3 separate regions of the Homo sapiens genome follow, and all the other regions are linked to region 3. The links are contacts of gene promoters, found by promoter capture Hi-C in human tissues and cell types (Jung and others, 2019). All regions are on one chromosome and are shown on one strand. Each heading gives the region's core, a stretch centred on a gene start or on the middle of the fragment in contact. The rest is flanking DNA. Distances are from core to core; before and after follow the strand shown.

Region 1 (4,431 bases), core at 1,805-4,304, 160 kb before region 3:
GACATAGGCTGCTACACAAGGGCCTGTGGACCAAATCTAGATGGATGACCCATAAGTGAAGAATGACTGTACATATCTTAAGGACTGCATAAACAAACAACCATATGCAACAGAGATTGTATTTGGCCTGCAAAGCATAAAATACTATCTGACTCTTTATGAAGAGTTTGCCAACCCCTGGTACAAGGGAGAGAATATAATGAGCTAAGAATGGAGCTCTGAGCTTAGTCTGCCTGGGGTTGATTCCTGGCATTGCCACCTACTAGCTGTATGGCCTTGGGCAAGTCAGCGAGGCCTCGTTTCCTCGTCTGTGACAGGGGAATAATACCTCTGCTTCATGAGGATGTTGTGAGGATGTAATAGTGAGAAAATGCAAGTAGAGCACTCAGCACAGGGCCTCACATGTAGACAATCGGTAAGGGTTGGCTACTATTTATATATATATATAAAGCAATTCTCCTGCCTCAGCCTCCCGAGTAGCTGGGAATACAGACGTGCACCACTATGCCCAGCTAATTTTTTTGTATTTTTACTAGAGATGGGGTTTCACCATTTTGGCCAGGCTAATCCCCTGACCTCAGGTGATCCACACGCTTCAGCCTCTGAAAGTGGTGGGATTACAGGCATGAGCCACCGCTCCCGGCCTATCTGTATAATATTAATAGCAGAATTTCATGGGGATGCTGGGAATATCAATTATATGTTCTATGCAAACATGCATGTTATTTACAAATTGCAGTGGGGCTCGGTGGTGTGCACCTGTAATCCTGTACTTGGGAGGCTGAGGCAGAAGAATCACCTGAGTTCAGGAATTTGAGTCCAGCTTGGACAACAGAGTGATACCCCCATTGCTAAAAATATTTTTTTTAAATAACAAAACCCCACCCAATTGTAAAGCGCTACATAAATTATTTAGGCAGAATAAGCAGTACATAAAAAGAAGTCTAAATCATAAAAAATCTAGGCTGTTTAGAAAAAAGGTCAATGTTATGAAAGAGAAAAAGGTAGTAGATTGTTCTAGATTAAGAACTGAGAATTGACAAACACCACCTGGATCAGAAAGACAAACACACACACAAACAACAACAGCCAGAAAAGCTAAAAAGGATAATTTTGGAAAATGTGAATGTGGACTGAATAGTAGAATGGCATTATTAAATCAACGTGAATTAGACTGAATAGTAGAAAGGCATTATTAAATAAATGTGAAATGTTCTTGGGTATGATGATATGTAGATATTCTTCTACGTTCTGTAGATGAATGTCCTTGTTCTTAGGAGACACATAATGAAGTTTAGGGGTGGAGCGTCATTGTATTGGCCATTTATTTTCAAAGAGTTTAACAACAACAATAAAAATGAAGTGTGTTCCAGTGTCTAAATATACACAAATAAATGCACACAAATATGACAAAGTACCAGAAACCAATGATCTAGGTGAAGGATATGCAGGGATTTACTGAATAACCCCCACGCTTCCCATATTTTTCCAATGGTTTGAAATTTTTCAAAGTAAGTAGTTGGGGACAAAATTCTAGGGTAGCTAAGATATTTACATATAATCTATACAAGAGAGACTGTCATGGGTTACTCAGTCACAAATTCCACTAGTGACTTTTTTTTTTTTTTTTTTTTTTTTTTTGAGACAGAGTCTTGCTCTGTCACCCAGGCCGGAATGCAGTGGTATAATCTCAGCTCACTGCAACCTCTGCCTCCCAGGCTCAAGCGATTCTTGTGCCTCAGCCTCCCGAGTAGCTGGGATCACGGGCATGCGCCACCACGCTCAGCTAATTGTTGTATTTTTGGTAGATATGGGGTTTTTTCATGTTGATCAGGCTGGTCTCAAACTCCTGGCCTCAAGTGATCCACCTGCCTTGGCCTCCCAAAGTGCTGGGATTACAGGTGTGAGCCACCGCAGACAGCCACACTAGTCACTTTTATTATAATGAAAAATAAGCATTGATTTTTATAAGCAAGCTCCCCATTTACTGCTTGTTTCATTTCTTTTTTCCTGTTCTACTTAAAATTTAAAAAGGGCATAGCAAGATGAAAACACAACCTTGAGCTTCACTTTCTTTATGTCTGGGTAAATTTTTTTTTAATATGGTAGCCATTTTAACTTTTCTTTTCTTTTTTTTTTTTTTAAGATGGGGTCTCGCTATGTTGCCCAGGCTGGACTCAAACTTCTGGGCTGAATTAATCTTCTCACCTCAGCCTCTCCGGTAGCTGGAGTACAGGTATGTACCACCGTGCCTGGCTTCTTTCACCTTTCTAAATAGTGAATCTTTTTTGATTCATGACAGGCATGAAGTCTGTCTGAAAGCTCCAGCTTTGCTCACATAATGCACAAGTTAACATGAAAATAACATGTAAGTGCCCACTGTGGGCTCAGCACGGGAGGCTGCAGGCAAGGGTCTGGGCTCTGCTGTTGGGAGGTGAGCACAGAAACCAAATAGGACAGTTAGAGTGGCACTGAGTGTCTTTGGGGTCCAGAGAAAGAAGGAATTAGCGGGGGCTGAGGCAGACTCGCATCTTGCTTCAGGAGTTTGCTGGACGCAAAATGATGGACGGCGCTGTCAACCAAGTAAGCTGATTTCTACTACAAAGTCATTTTCACCCATCTTGGATGCAAACTGGTAAGGAGCTTTACAACACATCTATTTCCCACACTTAAACTTATGTTAAACTTTCCCATCTCCAACTCACACGTCACTGGTATTCAACCTTTATTAGAAAGTCACAACTAAAGCTGGTCAACACCCTTAATCATCACAGCTTGCTCCCCGCCAGAGCCCATTCAAACAGCCCCACATCACTCACCTTGGGCGCACAGTCCATGATGCCTGTTCCCTTCATGTCGGTGATGTGGAGCAGCTCCCCTGAGCTCTGCAGCTAGTATCTCCAGCTTCAGAGGCAGATTGTGCAATGTCACTGCATGCTTCTGGCTGGTTCTCAGAAACTGAATTCTATGGAGCTATCTGACAACACATGGGAAACGATCAAAAAGACTCTCCCAGCAGGCAAACTTTCTGGAAAGCACGATAAGAGTAAAATGAAAGCAGTGAAGCAGGGGAGGACCAGAAATACAAGCCACACTCACGTCTCAATGCCTGACGTCTCACTTTGTCTGTAAGTAGAGACTGTCACTCATTTGCTATGTGAAACCACAAAAGAAGAAGAAGAAGAAAAAAACACCACTCTTCTGCTTTATAGGGCGAAGTTCCTACTTCGAAGAGCTCAGTGTATGAACACACAGCATTCTTGTCCTTTGAACTCTGTGGAACAACTCCAACCGAACAGACCAAGCTCATTTCCCTGATGAGAGGCCACTAGGCCAAATTTCTGATAGCGGTCAGCATTTCTTCCTTCCTGCTCCCTAAAACTTGCCTTATGACAGCCAGGATAAAAGCAGTCAAACAGGCTGCCTTAAAGGACACAGTCTCCACTCTACCCACCCTGTCAGTTGTGCATTCACCCTGCTCGGAACCCCATGCTCATCTCCTGGTCTTTGCTCATGGTACCTAATGAATAACATCTTCTGGGTACTGGCTCTGCACTGAGGGCTATGCTGAGCCCCGCACCTGTATTCTCTCTCTTAAATCAAATAAACTTATCGTGTGTGTTGTACTTGAAACCCCTGCTAGCTCATGCAGTTTATCATCACTTGCCAACTCTTTTTACTTTTCCTAAATTCAGATCCAATCTCTAGAGAGGACCTACAGCATAGCAGACACTGAGCAAAATAAGTCTGCATTTTTTTTTTTTTTTGAGACGGAGTCTTTCTCTGTCACTCAGGTGGGAGCGCAGTGGCGCAATCTCGGCTCACTGCAACCTCCACCTCCCGGGTTCAAGTGATTCTCCTGCCTCAGCCTCCAGAGCAGCTGGGATTACAGGCACCCGCCACCACGCCTGGCTAATTTTTGTATTTTCAGTAGAGACAGGACTTCACCATGTTGGCCAGGCTGGTCTCAAACTCCTGACCTCAAGTGATCCACCCACCTCAGCCTCTCAAAATGCTGGGATTACAGGCGTGAGCCACAACGCCTGGCCCCGGCCTGCATTTTTATTTAGACAAAATGGTGCCCATTCTTCCAAGCCAGGCTCAAGTTCTATCCCCAACCAGCTGTGGGGGATAGCTTACCGCTATCTTCTTGTCAGACAGCATTTTTTAATTTTTTATTTTTAAATTTTCTTTTCTTTTACCACACCTCTGAGGCAAGTTCAACAGATAGCACTTAGCGTCTTGTCCTCTGGTTGTCCCATGTGTCGTCCCCACAAGTCTGGGCACCAGGATGTATTTACCCATTGAAGTAGCTGACTGATTTCTGGCTGAGACAGTCCACATTTTTAAATGTTATCATTGTTAGAAATTAACTTCAGGGCCAAGTAATTGGCATGCTGCAGGCGATAGCAGATAACAGGGAGGGAACAA
Region 2 (4,710 bases), core at 1,116-3,615, 140 kb before region 3:
AGCCGAGATCATGCCACTGCACTCCAGTCTGGGTGACAGAGCAAGACTCCATCTCAAAAATAATAATAATAATACATTTTAGTAGTAACTTTGTGAAGTGTCTACATTTGTTTCCTCTTTGTCAGTTTTTTGCTCAATTCCATTTTGTCAATACTTGGAAAATGAAACATTGGTTAATCAATAGTACAGTAATAAGCTTATTGTGGAAAATCTTCGATATATGAAAACTTAGACTCTTCTAAAACTTCATGAAGATAATACCACTGTTGAACGTTTTGACGTATTTTTTTTTGGTCTTTTTCTTAAACGTATATTATCAAAGAAATTTCAATGGAACTGAGATTTTGGCATAAAGTTTTTGTATCATAGCTTTTTGCCAAATAGCAATGTAGTGTCTATTTCCAAATTATTGAGAAATTTTAGAAAGTGTCTCCTTCATTAATGGATATTTGTTAATAAAGCATGATTTTTAGGGGTGAGGAATTGGAGGGGATAGAAGGTATCATTCAGGTATTCTTAGCCACATACTAACTATCCTCTGGAGGTACTGATTAAAATACCTTTTCACCTTCCATCTCTTATCAGTGACATTCATTATTTTGCTATACTAGAGAACAAACTTTGTGAAATTCTCAATATATTCATCTTTTGCTTTCATGAATGCCAGAAAGTTTATTTTCTCTTCCATTCTAGGCTACAGCTCCAGTTGGAGGTCCAAAACGTGTTCTCGTGACTCAGCAATTTCCTTGTCAGAATCCATTACCTGTAAATAGTGGCCAGGCTCAGCGGGTCTTGTGTCCTTCAAATTCTTCCCAGCGCATTCCTTTGCAAGCACAAAAGCTTGTCTCCAGTCACAAGCCGGTTCAGAATCAGAAGCAGAAGCAATTGCAGGCAACCAGTGTACCTCATCCTGTCTCCAGGCCACTGAATAACACCCAAAAGAGCAAGCAGCCCCTGCCATCGGCACCTGGTAAACTAGCTTTTGAGACTCATTGGATAGTCCTTCTTTGTCGTCGTTGCTAAAAAAGCCAGTGTATATACTTGCACTTATTGTTTGGAGCCTTAGCTTTTATATCTGTTGAGGATGGGGAGAAAATATGGTGTCTGGGTTGAAGTAACAGTGTCTGCCCATGGGCCAGACCTATGCTAAAAATACAGACCTGATTCTCACCCTCTTGGAAGAGTTGGGCACCCAGGGAGGACACAGCATAAATTGGTGTCCTTTTGATTGCTTGTTACTGAGTCTGGATGTAGGGTGCTTGCAGTAAGTGACTTGAAGGGACTGAGATCTAAAGTGTGGGGGAAATCCAGAGAAGTGGGTGAACTGAGGCAGGCTGCGGTGAGGTCACCATGGGCATTGCTGGCCATGTTAAGGAATGGGGCCTCATCTCTAGGGCATTTGGAAGCTACTGAAGCTTTTTTGAACTCAGAAGGGAACTCTGCCTTTTAGAAAGTTTACTGTGGAAGGCCAGGCGCAGTGGCTCACGCCTGTAATCCCAGCGCTTTGGGAGACCGAGGCAGGTGGATCACCTGAGGTCAGGAGTTGGAGACCAGTCTGACCAACATGGAGAAACCCTGTCTCTACTAAAAATACAAAATTAGCCAGGCGTGGTGGTGCACGCCTGTAATCCCAGCTACTCAGGAGGCTGAGGCAGGAGAATGGCTTGAACCCAGGAGGTGGAGGTTGTGGTGAGCCGAGATTGTGCCATTGCATTCTAGCCTGGGCAACAAGAGCAAAATTCTATCTCAAAAAAAAAAAAAAAATTTACTGTGGAAGTACTGAATAAATTGGAGTAGAACGCTGGATTTAGGAGTACCAGACAGGAAGGAGGTTGAGGTCAGAGATGGCAATAACCTGCTCTGTGTGGAGCAGAGTGGATGCAATTATTTACCAACTGTTGAGTGCTCATTCCCTGCAGGCTCTGAGATAAGTGCGTGCTTCATCCACGTCATCTCTTTCAATCTTCGTAACCACTTCATGAAGGTAGCCAGTTATTAACTCAGTTTTACAGAGGAGGAAGCTAAGACTCAGAAGCAGTTAACTTATCCAAAGACAAGCCAGGATGGAGAGGTGCACACAAATTTGAGAGCTCATTTACGATGCAGACTCATTAGAACTGGGCAATAAATTGTACCTGAAAGATGAATAAAGAGGAGTTAGGGATGGTGATTAGATTGATATTAATTGAGTGAGTGTCCTGGGGGTTGAGGGGTGCACATGTGACAGGGGCATCTGGAGGAAGAGTTTGGACCAGCATCCAGATATCTGAGCAGAGCATTGTGTGCTGTTCGAGTTTGCTATGTTGGAGACAGACCAGTGGAAATGTTTCATATGTCCTTGTGGCTGATGAAATAGTTACCCCAGTCCTCTGCTGCACAACTGTTCATTGTGCATTTTGCTGAATTGGTGGCTTTTATTTTTATATTTCCCCTTGGCAGCTAATATAAATGGAGGGTGGCTGGCTTATGTTTTGCTACATGTTGGTGATAATTCGTATGTAGGGTATGGACTGTTGGCTGGCCCACCTAGTAAGGGGAAAAAGGTGACGAGTTGGCAGCTCGTCATGCATGGGAAGATTGGTACTTCTGCCACAAAAGCTCTTCTTTGGAAACTGAGGCTTCAGAAGAGCCTGCATAGTCTGCCTTTAATTTATCAGAGAAGGGCCTGTCTATATATACGTCTGCTCATCTTTAGAAATTCTATAAAGGCTTCACATGATGGAAGTCAGGGTGTAGTAGTCCTTTTTTTCTATAAGGAAAACTTTAAAAAAAAAAAACAGATTTATCATTCTTGACATACCATTAATATTTTGGTGACCAATTCTTTGATTCACCTCTATTCACAGCTTAGCTTATCCTATATAGTTATTCTAAAAACAGGTTTTTAACTTATTCCATATAGAAAATAATCCTGAGGAGGAACTGGCATCAAAACAGAAAAATGAAGAATCAAAAAAGTAAGCTTTCTTATTTACAAAGTTCTGTACTGTTCTACTAGAATATATTATTTCGTTGCAAATTTCGTTGTGGGAACTCTGGGGAAAAAAATGAGGCCTTTATTTGCATTTAGAGGATATAAATGTTTCCAGATTTCCAATCTTAAAAAAAATGGAATTTTGTGTAATGAGGTATTTTACTAGGAACTCAAGTGCTTTAAAAAATGGCTTTCAAATTTAGAAAAAGCTTGTATGAATCTTTTATAGAAATGTGTGGAAGTTCCTCTCTGTCCTTAGAAATAACCACTACATATGGTTTATGCGTCTGTACTTTTTTATTGTACAAAAGTGCAAGTTTTTAAAAAATAGAATATGTTGCAGAACTATATACTCATATATGACTGAGGGTTTTGACAGTATTATAGTTTTAGTTCTTTATTGTAAAGGTTGGCTGTAATGTCTTCCCCAGGGCTTTTCTAAAAGCCTCCTCTCAGTCTCTGAACTATCTGGACTCTAGAATGTACCGGGAGGAGCGAGGAATGAACCCACAGACTCTTTTGCTTTTAGCGGTCTAACAGAGGCTAAGAGTCTAAATCCACTGGTTCTCATGCCCCAGCTAGCCTGTGGGCTCCATCCCGCTTCCATTAGTAACAGTGGCTCTGTCTCCACCACCAGAGTGGTTCTCCACCCAGAGAGAATTAGCACCTCTGGGACTGGAGGGAGCAGCTGGGGTTAGTTTGAAACATGCCCCCAGATGGTCTGGAAGCATTCCTCCCTCTCTGGTCACTTATCCTTTTTGTGGTCTTCAGCGTTGTCATGGCCCTGTTCCTCTGAGCATAGTACGGGCTTGGGACATTTCCCATAGAGTGCTTCAGGTCTAAAACCCGAGACTGCTCCTTGTCACTGACTCTCACACCTGACGGCAGCTAGGGACGTCAGGGTTTCATGTCGTGGCAGCTCTTTGATAGTGGTTATTGCCTTGGTTCTTGCTGAGGATGCATATTGAGTGAAGTTGGAATACGAAATTATTTGTAGAATGTGTCTGCTACTCATTGAAAATTTGTTAGAAAAGCTTTGTTTTCTTCACATTCTAAAGTGTTCAAATTCCTCCTAGGAGGCAGTGGGCTTTGGAAGACTTTGAAATTGGTCGCCCTCTGGGTAAAGGAAAGTTTGGTAATGTTTATTTGGCAAGAGAAAAGCAAAGCAAGTTTATTCTGGCTCTTAAAGTGTTATTTAAAGCTCAGCTGGAGAAAGCCGGAGTGGAGCATCAGCTCAGAAGAGAAGTAGAAATACAGTCCCACCTTCGGTGAGTTTTCAGGTTCATGTTCAAAAGAATGTTCACCAATGCTGCACCCCTCCCCCTCCTGTAATGTCAGCCTCCCACTGCCCAGGTCCCTTCACTCCCTCTTACGAGGCACTGCCTTCAAATGCATGGCCCCGTTCCTCACCTCCCCCTCCCCTATGAAAAAGATTAGATAAGCTTCTGTACTGCACTGGGTTATAAGCATTCTCCTGTGATTCTCCCATGCTCTGCATGTTAAAATAAAATTGTATTCCTTTTTTTTTTTTTAAGTATAAATTTATTTTTTAGAGGGCCTGCTTTTCATAGTACCACAAAAAATGATTAAATTTGTCATCTTTCAAAGAGCACTTAAGTGCTCTGATCCTGGAAAAATCACTTGAGGATTTAATGTTTTGTTAATAGAATAGTTTATATGGGCAAGTCTTTCTGGTGGACAGTGAAGGGGAATGGCACCCCTTATTCTGAGGTATG
Region 3 (4,171 bases), core at 341-2,840:
AATAGAGTAGAACTCAGTCTCCTACGGAGTTATAAGTGCAAAGCTATCTCTCCGTGTAGCTGGCAGCAGGAGGTCGTAGCTGTAACAGGTTTGCTTGCAAGAGATCTGAACCACCCTTATTGTTCATGAGAATCCTTCAGTCTGGTCTGGCCTGGAGCATGAAGACGTGGGTGTGGAGCAGATGAGCAGACAGGCGTCGCACACCCTGGGTGTTTGGAAATGAGTGCAGAGAGCATGCAGAGAAGCCTTCGCTGATTTCTCCCAGTGACTATTTGGGAAATCAGAGTTTGTGACTTACCCATCTTGGAATCCTTTCAGAGAATCTGTTGTTCACCAATTTTCCCCTTTAAAAGGCTTTGTAAACTTAAAAACAAACGACAAGTACAATCATGGCTGTTAACACATTTTTATATTTTCTAAGTATATATATTTTTCTTTCTAAACACCTCACGTGGATGGAAAGTCAAAAGTGACCCGACTGATGATCATTTCCATGGCCCTGCATCCTATCCCAAGTTCATGCCGTTGCAGCCACAGAGAATCTCCCTAAAGGTGTTGCGCAATTCCAGGCTCCGGAAAGCGTAGATGAGTGGGTCGATGACGGAGTTGCACATGATGAGGACCAGGTAGGTGTTGAAGTGGGCAGTGTAGCAGATGCAGTAGGGGTTGGTGGGGCAGGTGATGATGAGGACCAGGTGGAGGAAGAAGGGGGCCCAGCAGAAGATGAACACGCCCAGGAGAATGGTGATGGTGACTGCCCCCTTCATGCATGAGTGTTGCTGTGGGGCCACCCCGTCGGCAGGTGGCAGTGCTGCTATGCGCTTGACGTGCAGCCGCGCAAAGAGGAACATGTGCACGTAGAGGGTGCCCATGAGGAGCATCATGGCGAAGAACATGGTGATGAGGCACACAATGACCATTTTGCTCTCCGAGTAGACGATGAACACCACGCCACAGACGCCGCAGCAGACCCAGATGGCCACGATCAAGGTGAGGGCCTTCCTCACGGTCATGATGCTGTGGTAGCGGAGCGCGTAAAAGATGGTGACGTACCTGTCGACGGCGATGGCCAGGAGGTTGCAGATGGAGGCCACCAGGGAGATGCAGATCATGGAGTCGAAGATGTTGTCCATGTGCTGGATAAACTGGTCCTCGAAGGTCAGGTAGTCGCTGTGGACGATGGCGATCATGATGGTCTCCAGGGCATTGGACACACTTACCAGCATGTCGGCCACCGCCAGGCTGCAGAGAAAGAAGTACATCGGGGAGTGCAGGTTGCCGTTCCTGACCACGGCCAGGATAACCAGGATGTTTTCCAGCAGACTGACGATGCCCAGAGACAGGAAAACCTCGGGCTTGATGAAGACCTGCTCACAGAAGGCGCTGCTGCTCTGGTTGCTGAAGAAAGGGGCTTGGAGGTGCTCCGAGCCATTAGGCAGTGTTGGCTGAACAGAGGGCAGGCAGCACGAAGCATTCATTGCTGTCAGAAGGGCTGATCCGAGCTGGGGCTCCAGCAGGGTCCGTAGGAAGCTGCTGCTGCTCACAGGAAAGACAAAATCTCCCTCCAGATACGTCTTTTGGATGCTCATTCAATCTGGCCTTAGAGTTTATTCTCCTCTAGAATAAAAGGATGGGGAGGGTAGAGAGACAGATAGTGAGAGAGGGTGGAGGAAGAGACAGAGAGAGAGAGAGACATACACACAGAGAGAAAGAGCGAAGGGGGAAGAGAGAGAGAGAGGGAGAGTAGCTAGTTAGTAGCTAGCATGCAAGTTTGTAGCTTGGAGACATAGGGAGAACTTTGCTGTTCCAGGAGGAGCAGTTTTTATCTTGTTTACATAGAAAAAATACACCATAGGGTCTCTTACCAGCTGTCTTCCTTCTGTCTCCCTCTCACCCCTCTGTTTGTCTCTCCTCACTTCCCCACCTGGGAACAGAAAACCTGCCACCGGCTGCTACAGTTACAGCTCTTTTCATGGCAAGACAGGGGATGTGTTACTTGTCGCTAGAAGTGAAGGGAGAACACTCAGGTTTTTCATATTGGCCAAGGGCAAACAACTCCTACTTAATCTTCAGCGCAGCAGAATGACCACTGAGCATCGGGCACCTCTCTGACTGACAGCAGGTACCTGGCCCTGAGGATTCTGCAGGGAGATTAAGAAGCAGACTAGTGCCCTCTGCAGGCCGCACGGCTGTCTGCTTGCTGGCTTGGCTTAGCCCTTTGTGTTTGTCATGGAAACTGCCACAGGCATCCACTCATCTGTTCATTTGTTTGTTTATTTGTTAGTTCATTCATTTGTTGTTGTTGTTTAGCAAACATTTATTGAGCGCCTACTATGTGTCAGGTCTCTGCTGAGTGCAGGAAATACAGTGGTGAGCAAGACAACAGCCACTATCTCAGGCTTCCCCGAACTCAGAGTCTGGGGTGGAAGAAGAGGAATCAATAAATGCTTGAATCAGGAAAGTCCAGGAAACCAGGGATGCAAAGAGGAAGAGCCCTAACCCGGACTGTCAAAGTTCCTGGAGGAAGGAGCACCTATGCTTTGACTTCAAGGAGGAAGAGGTCATATCCAGTTTGGGGTGGGTGGTGGGGTGGGGGCTGGAGCTGGAGGAGGTAGAAGAGGACTCCAGGCAGAGGGAATCACACGTCTGCAGCCTGGAGGCAGAGAGCACCCTGGCCATAGAAGTCATCACAGATTGTGGATGTGGAGATCCCATTTGACCCGCGGAGTCAGAATCACCCAGGTGTAAGACCTGAACAAGTGTGTTTGCAATTTTTGACAGGTGAGCTGGGGCATAGTCACAGTTGAGCTCCACTGAAAAAGAATCTTGGGCTTTTGAAAGTGCTGAAAGTAGTCTGCTCTGGTCAGAGCATGGAAATAGGAGACACAATCTGAGAAATGAGGCTGCACAGTTTCTTAAAAAGTTGAGAGGTGCCTGAATCCTGAAGGACAGCCTCAGCCAGATGTGAGAATTTGGACAGTACCTTGACAGCAATGGGGACTGTGGAAGAAACATAGGTAGGGCAGGAATGAGATGGGGTCTGCATTTTAGAAATATTCCTGGTTGCAGGGTGGAGAATGAATTAGACAGACTGAGCATGTAGGCCAGGGAGTCCGGGGCAGAGGGTGTTGCAAAGACCCAGGGTGAGATGATGGTGGCCTGGAGCAAGGGAGTGGCCATGGGGACTTGGAAGACTTGGAGGGTGGTCAGAGAGATTCAGAAGGTTGGATAATGCAGCTTCAGAACTGATGGGTTATGGGATCATGGGAGAGGGAGCAGTCAGAAACACCTGTACTTCTTTCTTACATAATGGGGAGGATGGAGATGTTTTAAGCTGGAAAATGTGAAAGGCAGAAGTTAGCAGGTGGCCTACTAATGTAGTGTTGTTCTTGGAAGTATGGTTTAACACTTGGTCCATGTTAGATCTGATTCCCCATGTAGATCATATGAACTCAGAAAACACTGAGTCTTCTCATCCCTACACACACACACACACACACACACACACACACACACGCACATTCTAGGTGAATTAATGATCCATCTCTCCATGTAACTATGTATGTGTGTGTAGGTGTGAGAAATATTAAAAATATGCATATGGAAATAGAAGAAAACTTAGGATCCTTGGGGTGGAAAGATCTTAAGCAAGATGAGCAATCCAAAATTTAGTATGGAAAAACACCCTGAACTAAGTTAAAAGAAAAACAGAATGAAAATATTTGCTATAGGTAAAGTTACTATCTCTTACATACAAAGACTACTTTCACATTAACTAGAAAAAGATAAATTACCCCTAAGAAAATTGGGCAAAGGATATAAATAATAATTTACTGAAGAGAAGATGCAAATGGTTAATAAACATGAAAAGATGTGAAGCCATCTAGGAAGTTGGGGAAATGCCAGTCAAAATGAGATTTTAATATCGTTTTCCCAGCTAGATTGACAAGAGATAAAAAGATGCAAAATTCAGGTAAGAATATCGGGAGGACACTCTCATGCATTTCTAGTGTTTGTGAATAGTTTCACCATTTGGCAGTTCTTACTAAAATAAAAAAAAAGCCTGTTGGTATGAGTTTCTGTCTATGAACTGAGGGGCATGAGAAATACTTTTGTTTATTTGCTTTTTTTAAAAAAATATTTTGTCAAGAGCATGAGTTTAAGTTGCCCT

What was found. Contacts are between HindIII fragments. The study calls those that stand out against the background at their distance.
Region 1: a contact is called between the fragment with the promoter of CASS4 here and the fragment with the promoter of MC3R in region 3, in 1 of the 25 tissues and cell types used here (adrenal gland).
Region 2: a fragment that was not itself captured here is called in contact with the fragment with the promoter of MC3R in region 3 in 1 of the 25 tissues and cell types used here (hippocampus).

The regions. Positions count from the first base shown.
Region 1 is chr20:56,410,883-56,415,313 of GRCh38, reverse strand. CASS4 (Cas scaffold protein family member 4) reads right to left here and starts at 3,054. Exons shown (of 6, transcript NM_020356.4): 1 at 2,820-3,054. The coding sequence starts at 2,855. The HindIII fragment of the contact is 13,693 bases long and covers 1-4,431 here.
Region 2 is chr20:56,382,517-56,387,226 of GRCh38, reverse strand. It overlaps AURKA (aurora kinase A), which reads left to right. Exons shown (of 9, transcript NM_198437.3): 3 at 694-970; 4 at 2,903-2,957; 5 at 4,051-4,242. Among named protein-coding and RNA genes, the nearest start is that of AURKA, 7.3 kb to the left of the region's middle. RefSeq lists an enhancer at 1-1,141. The HindIII fragment of the contact is 3,694 bases long and covers 519-4,212 here.
Region 3 is chr20:56,246,151-56,250,321 of GRCh38, reverse strand. MC3R (melanocortin 3 receptor) reads right to left here and starts at 1,590. Exons shown (of 1, transcript NM_019888.3): 1 at 507-1,590. The coding sequence starts at 1,478. The coding sequence ends at 507. RefSeq lists a silencer at 2,120-2,189. The HindIII fragment of the contact is 18,891 bases long and covers 1-4,171 here.